Linked DNA regions of Homo sapiens: region 2 is linked to region 1. Evidence: promoter capture Hi-C in 16 types of primary human blood cells and fetal thymus (Javierre and others, 2016). All regions are on one chromosome and are shown on one strand. The core of a region is centred on a gene start or on the middle of the fragment in contact, and the rest is flanking DNA. Distances in the headings are between cores, read along the strand shown. Region 1 holds the start of ITPRIPL1 (ITPRIP like 1). Region 2 holds the start of TXNDC9 (thioredoxin domain containing 9).

Evidence for each region. Contacts are between HindIII fragments. The CHiCAGO score rates a contact against its expected background, and 5 or more counts as called.
Region 2: a contact is called between the fragment with the promoter of TXNDC9 here and the fragment with the promoter of ITPRIPL1 in region 1, in 1 of 17 cell types (neutrophils). The highest score is 5.9, in neutrophils.

Annotation. Positions count from the first base shown.
Region 1 is chr2:96,323,841-96,327,225 of GRCh38, reverse strand. It overlaps ITPRIPL1 (ITPRIP like 1), which reads right to left and starts at 1,909. Exons shown (of 3, transcript NM_001008949.3): 1 at 1,661-1,909; 2 at 1,377-1,479; 3 at 1-584. The coding sequence starts at 1,386. RefSeq lists an enhancer at 1,222-1,722 and a silencer at 1,745-1,994. The HindIII fragment of the contact is 6,653 bases long and covers 1-2,504 here.
Region 2 is chr2:99,334,446-99,337,830 of GRCh38, reverse strand. It overlaps TXNDC9 (thioredoxin domain containing 9), which reads left to right and starts at 1,498. Exons shown (of 5, transcript NM_005783.4): 1 at 1,498-1,592. It overlaps EIF5B (eukaryotic translation initiation factor 5B), which reads right to left and starts at 442. Exons shown (of 24, transcript NM_015904.4): 1 at 242-442. The coding sequence starts at 276. RefSeq lists enhancers at 244-353, 60-561, 574-683, 704-783, 794-843 and 5 more and a silencer at 14-173. The HindIII fragment of the contact is 22,802 bases long and covers 1-3,385 here.

The DNA.
Region 1 (3,385 bases), core at 660-3,159:
AATGAGATCATCCACAAAACTCTCCACAAACTCACAGGTGCAGGGCAGGTCACGGATGGCATTTTGGACATAGTGTTTGTAAAAGGAGTCCAGGGCCTCCTGGGAGGGGAAGTCAGTAAGCCAGTTGTAAGAGGTGACAGGGACAACACGGACTTCCTCCTCCTCCTCCTCACTGCTGGAATCAAAGGCCGGTTCATGCTGCATGTTCTGTCGCAGGAGCTCAAAGACGAGAAAAAGGCAAAAGAGGCCAGTGTTCCACAGGTTTCCCAGCATCCAGCCCAGAGGCCCTTCCTGGCCATCGGCCTGGAACGGCCACCCCATGTCTTTCTTCCCCAGCACTAACTGGTCACTGGATGTGTCTCCTGTCCAGAAGTTCTCTGCCTTCTGCCTCTGCTCAGCGGCTCGCTTTCTCTCTTCAAACTCCATCTCTAGCAGGCGCATCTCCTCACTCATTCGCTTCTCCAGCTGCCGACTCCTGGCTAATGTGTCCAGGTCCATCCGATCACTGACCATCAGAGGGTGGTGAACAACATACATCACTGCCAAGAACAGCAGGCTTATCACAGCCATGGAGGCCTCTGCATCTGGAGAAGTAGGAGAGTAGGAGTCAGTGGTCATCTTCCAGACTTATCTGCTCTCTAGCTCACATTCCCCAGAGCCCTGGTACCCCAAATTCTGAAAATCAGCTACTCAGGAGGAACAGAAAGCCCACAGAGCTTGGCTTGGACACAGCAAGGGTGGTCGGCCTGGGAGGAGGTTCGAGAGAAAAGAGGGCGAAAGGATGTGCCACTCAGTCTCTCTCCTGCTTTCCTTCCACATGGTGTGGGTGGTATTTAGGCTTCCAGAAAGTGTACATGGGACTGTTTTCATTCCTGTGTAGGATGGGGAGGGGGACCCTTGTGGTAGGGTGGCCTCACCCGACTCCTCAGTCAACCATGGGCACCAGATATGACCTGCTGATCCCAGAGGCTCCCTTTTATAGCCAGAAAGCCCTGAACCTGCCTGGGTGACACCTTTCCTCTGCCCCGGCAGCCAGTTGTAGCATTCCACTTCCTCTGTGACTTCACAGTCTTCATTCTGCTCACCCAGTATGAAGTGAGCCTCATCACTCAGCCTCTCCCTCTCTGCCCAGGGAGCGCAAGAGAGGCACAGTGCCGCCAGCTGCTTGCTACGGTGCCCTCTCTGCTCCTAAGGGGCTAGTGGATACCCCGTGTGTGGGCAGGCTAGCTTCACTTCTTAGTTCAGAAAACTGTCTGCAGAACCAGGTGCCCAAGGCCTACCTGACAGCCGGCAGTGGTCAGTTCCACTGCCTCCCCACCCACCCGTGAAGCCCGAGCTTCTGCCACTCACCCTAATTCACAAGCTACCGCGCTTACCAACATTCATGAAGGACTATGCCGTGTGGACGCTGAAGCCAGCTGGGCCTATCCTCCCTTTGGAACTTGGCCTTGCTTCGTCTCCCCGCCCTCTCTAGGAGCCCTGTTAAAATGTACAAGGTACCTGGGGGCTTTGGCTCAAATCGGAACCCGACCCTCCCCCCATTCATAACTTCCCCAAATTCCACGCCCAGAGATTTGTACTCTCACCCGCCTATCCGTAGGAGGCCAAGGGCCCATCCTACCTCGGGATGTCTCCCGGGACCCAGGGCCAGGTTACTCACCGTCAGTGTTAGTAGGAACACGATCTTAAAGAGACAGCGCGGCCTGACCGCCACTGCTTTTTTCCCGGCAGGGTGGGGGCGTCCGGTTCATCGCTGGGGCCGCCCGCGGGAGTGGCCCTGCTCCCCTTTCCTGGGTTATAGACCATGCTTGTCCGAGCGTCTGAACGTCTGGCTGAGCGCGGTGGGCCCCTACGACCCCCAGCACGCGGCTCCGAGGGCGCCCGCGCGCCGCAGCCGCTCCCGCCGTCCGGGCTCCTCCCCGCCCACCCAGTACAAGCTCCTCCCCGCCCAAACCCCCGTGGCCCAGCGTGCAGGGGCAGCGGCCTCCCCACACCGGGTCTCTGTCCGCACCGAGGCCCCCGTGGGTTTGCTGGGAGAGTGGAGGGGCCGTGGCCACACACTCTCCGCTGCTCGGCCTCCCTGGGGTGGCAAATGGGGCACCGCCGTGCCTGCTGTCAGCTGCACTCAGCTCAGTTCAGTGGAGAACAGACTTACTAGGATTCGGGTGTAAGGATGATGGTGGCAAAACTAGGAATTGACCGAGAAAAGCCATTCTCACTTCGGGCTGGCCCTGAGCAAAATGGCACACGAAATAAGATGTGGTTTCAGCACCCTAAATGTGCTTCCCTCCCAGCCCACGCCCAGACTCAGGCATCTTTCCCCAACCCCTTTCTCATATCAAAGTGACTCTCATGAAAGAACAGACAGCACCCAAAGACCTTACTTGGGGCCTTGCTTGCTACTCACTGGCCACGTGGGAGTAAGAATCCTACCTACAGGGCAGCTCTGCTGATACATGGGTGTATAAAGGAGAACTTTATACGGTGTGGAGGCTGGACAAGCTTTATCACACCTTAAGAAACACAACAGAATGGGTTTCCTGAAAGGGATCTTCAGATATCAGAAAGAGCCCTTAGTCTTCCTGTCTTGTGTCAGCTATCCAAGAAGAAAAGGAAGTGATGACCCCTTGATACTAACTCACTAAAATCCCTCTGCTGAAAGACAAGTTTCAGGGTTTTTATTTGTTTGTTTGTTTTTGAGAAAGAGTTTCGCTCTGTCACCCAGGCTGGAGTGTAGTGGCACCATCTTGGCTCACTGCAGCCTACCCGCCCCAGGTTCCAGTGATTCTCCTGCCTCAGCCTACTGAGTAGCTGGGACCACAGGTGTATGCCACCATGTCCAGCTAATTTTTGTATTTTTAGTAAAGACGGGGTTTCACCATGTTGGCCATGCTGGTCTCGAACTCCTGACCTCAGGTGATCTGCCCGCCTCGGCCTCCCAAAATGCTGGGATTATATGTGTAAGCCATCACACATGGCTGGGTTTCAGGTCTTCTTATCCAGTGGCAATGTGTAGGGAGCTCCCAAACAACTTGTACAATACTTCCAAGAATACTGACTTATTTAATTGTGGAGCAGGAAAAACTGTCTGCTAGCTGACAATGACTGAAGTTCCAAAGTTACTTTTTATAAATGTGAATTATGAAAAATAGATCACAGGTTATTGAGCATTCATGCATTTGGAGCAGTAATAATGAAAGTCTCTTATCTTTTCACTTATGACATGATGTCAGGATGCAAAATATATGCTTCAGAGTGTGCAAAAACGATAATGTTTAAGACCATGTGTTTTAAAGTTGTATTATTTTAATTAACAAATAATAATTGTACATATTCATAGGGTGCACAGTCATGTTTCATACATACAATGTATAATTTCAGATTA
Region 2 (3,385 bases), core at 249-2,748, 3.0 Mb before region 1:
CAGGCCGGGGAAGGGGTGCCGGGGGAGCGAGGCTCGACTGGGAGGACCCGCCCGCCGTCGAGGCCCTACGTGCCCACCCGGCCCGGGGGCTTGGGCCCGCTCCGCACACTCTGGGCCCAGGCCTGGTACCCCGCGAAGCTCATCGCGAGCCCAGACCCCGGTCCGACGCCGCGCCCGGCGAGACCCGCACACTCCACTGAGCCACGGCGGCCGCCGCCGTACGGACCCAACCCCTATCTACCTGTCTTCGCTCTTGTTTTTCTGTTTCTTCCCCATTGCTTGTCAATGGCGCTCGTGGCCCCAGCCCCTCTATTCGGTCTCTCACAGACCCACTGTCTCCCGGCTGACTTTGGTCTCCGCTCAGCTCTTTTCCCCTCGTGCTGCCGCCGCTCGCACCCGGCTCTCCACAGACCCGCGCACTGGAACAGGACACATATGGTGTGAGTTCTCAGTGCGCAAGCGCATCGCCCAGCCGCCTCGGCGTGAGGACGCAGGGCGCGGCTCATCGAGAGCTGCGCTTCGGGTAGAGCGTCTCCGGTTGACCGGCCGACCAGGCAGCAGCCCGAGCGCCCCCTGCCCTCAAGCGTCCGCCACGAGCCGACACCCGCGGGTTTTCCACGTTCTAGAACCCGGAGGTGGACAATGAAGCTGTCAATTTCGCCACCTCACCCCTCTCCCAACGGGGAACGCACGCTTCGGTTCAGGAGTGGGCTTTGGGCTTCCCTTTATATCTTTGTATTCTCAGCCGCACGAAGTTCAGTAAAGAACCACAACGAACCAATAGAGTCCTCTGGGGGTTTGCGAGAGAGATAAATTCAGGACAAAATAGGGACCTCTCAGTAACATCCATGCATTATGCATTATGTACAGTCACTGAATAAAACAGAACAGGACACAGCCGATCAATTCCCTAACATAGGTCTTCAGCTTCACCCTCAAAGCGAGGGCGAGTTCTAAAAATTCCTGTGTTTCGAAGAGTCAAGAGGGGACCTACAGGGGTGGTGGAAAATGTTCTATATCTGGATCTGGCCGGTGATATTTTGGGTTTTAACTATGCAAAAGTTAATTGTGCTGTATATGTTTATGCCTCGACTTTAGGAAAAATGTTAACAAAAGAAAACAAAAAAAAGAAAAATGTTCATTCAACACTAACAGAATGGAAACGCAGTTCAAGCGTCACGGCTGAGCGAGAGCACAGCTGTCTCATTTCCAGTCTGGCGCACTGGACCGTGAATACTGAAGCACGCTCCTGAGAAAGTCCGGCCACGACAGCCTGCGCACTAAGAAACTGCAACTCCCACAATGCTTTGCGGCCTTCCAGTTCGGCCGTGTACCCGGAGGAAAGCAAGGGTCGGACACCTTGGGTTCCGGGCTGCTGGGCGGGAGGCGCACGCGCAGAACTGTTCGCCACCCGACCGCCCGCCCCTTCCTCTGGCGTCCAAGGTGATATCGCGCGAGGTTCGCAGCCAATAAGGAGGCGGATGTGACGGCCCGTTTGCAGCCGCCGGCAGCTACTGCAAGGCAAAAGCCGGAGTGGACGTGTCTTTTGAAACTGCTGCTCTTTCACTTCTCAGGCGTCACCGAGAGCTCAGGTGAGGCAGAGGGTAGTGAGAAGAATCCGACCACCACGTCCGGGTGCTGGTGAACATTCTGCTGCTCCACATCCGGAGCGGAGGAGGGGCGCGGCCCCAGCACCGGTGTCGGTGTCCTGGCAGAGGCTCTTGCGCAAGCGCACCAGGAGGCGTCGAAGTTGGGGCCACCGGGACTGTGCTTTCCTCTGTTTCCCCGGGCGCAGGGAGTGGCCGGCTTGCCATTGGGGAGGTACCTGGGGTTCAGTTAAGGACCAGGCCCCTTGATTGTTTTGGCGGATACCTGTAAGGGTGTCCAGGAAATGACTAGGGAATTTGAGGACGCGCTGTGTCCCGTCCCACCCTTCCAGCGGAGCTGTAAAAAGGAAGAATCAGAGGCTGTGGTTTGAAAAATGAAAAGCTAACGAGGGGTTGCATCGTCTCTTTACCCCATTCTCAATGCTCTGACCACCAACACCTACACCCAGAATAGCTCTTCTTAATCTCGTCTTTTTCCAGTTATCCCATAATTAAATTCTGGGCTCATTCTATAAAGTTCCAGGGTAGGCATTCTCTGTGCTTATCCCTGGAGCACAGCTTCCAACGTTCAATTCAGTATCTTATTATCTTCTCCTTCCAGCCCCCTCACTGAGGGTCACAGTCCTACTGACATTTTTCTTGGGCGATAGGGAGCGTGGAAATCTTTGCTGTGTTTGAAATACAGCACCTTTCCAATTTTATAGCACTCACGAGGAGCTTACAATTTGGTTTTTTAGACTCAAATACTTTTGAAACTTAACAGTGTAGTAATTTGAACAGAAGTCAGGCACGTGTTCATTCAACGTTAAATACATGTTTATTGAGTACCTGCTGTGTTCTATGGAGATACAAAGATGAAATCAAGTATGCTTTTCAAATCCTTTTCCTGTAAAGAAAAAGGAATCAGAATTGAAGTTTGCAAGAATATTTCTCTTCAGCTCAACGTTTATAGAGGGCCTGTGTGGGTCAGAATCTGTGTCAGAAGCTGAGTGAATGAATTCACAGTTTGTTGTGAAGTTTGGGGTGCTTCAGTATTATTTGCAAATGTATCATAGTTCATTGATATGCAACAGCCTCCTGCTTTGATAGGCAAATTATAAATCATTTCTGCAGTAATAACCCTGAGATACACATAAACTTGCCCTCTAATTGTTGGTATAAAATTTCTCGTACAAAATACTCCATTTCTTTTAAAAGAAGTAAAATTTTGGCCGGGCGCGGCTGGCTCACGCCTGTAATCTCAGCACTTTGGGAGGCCGAGGCGGGCGGATCACGAGGTCAGGAGATCGTAGCCATCCTGGCTAACACGGTGAAACCCCGTCTGTACTAAAAATACAAAAAGAAATTAGCCGGGCGTGGTGGCGGGCGCCTGTAGTCCCGGCTACTCGGGAGGCTGAGGCAGGAGAATGGCGTGAACCCAGGAGGCGGAGCTAGCAGTGAGCGGAGATGCGCCACTGCACTCCAGCCTGGGCGACAGAGCGAGACTCCGTCTCAAAAAAAAAAGTAAAATTTTGTACTAATTGCTAGTACAAAATACTCCATTTCTTTTAAAATATATAGTCATGTGCCACATAAGGACATTTCAGTTTTATGAGATTGTAATACTGTATTTATCGTACCTTTTCTATGTTTAGATACACAAATGCCATTATGTTACAGTTGTCTGCAGTATTCAGTACAGTAACATGCTGTACAGATTTGTAGCCTAGGAGTAATAGGCTGTATGGCATAGCCTAGGTGTGTAGCAGGCTGTACCATCTGGGTTTGTGTAAATAGTC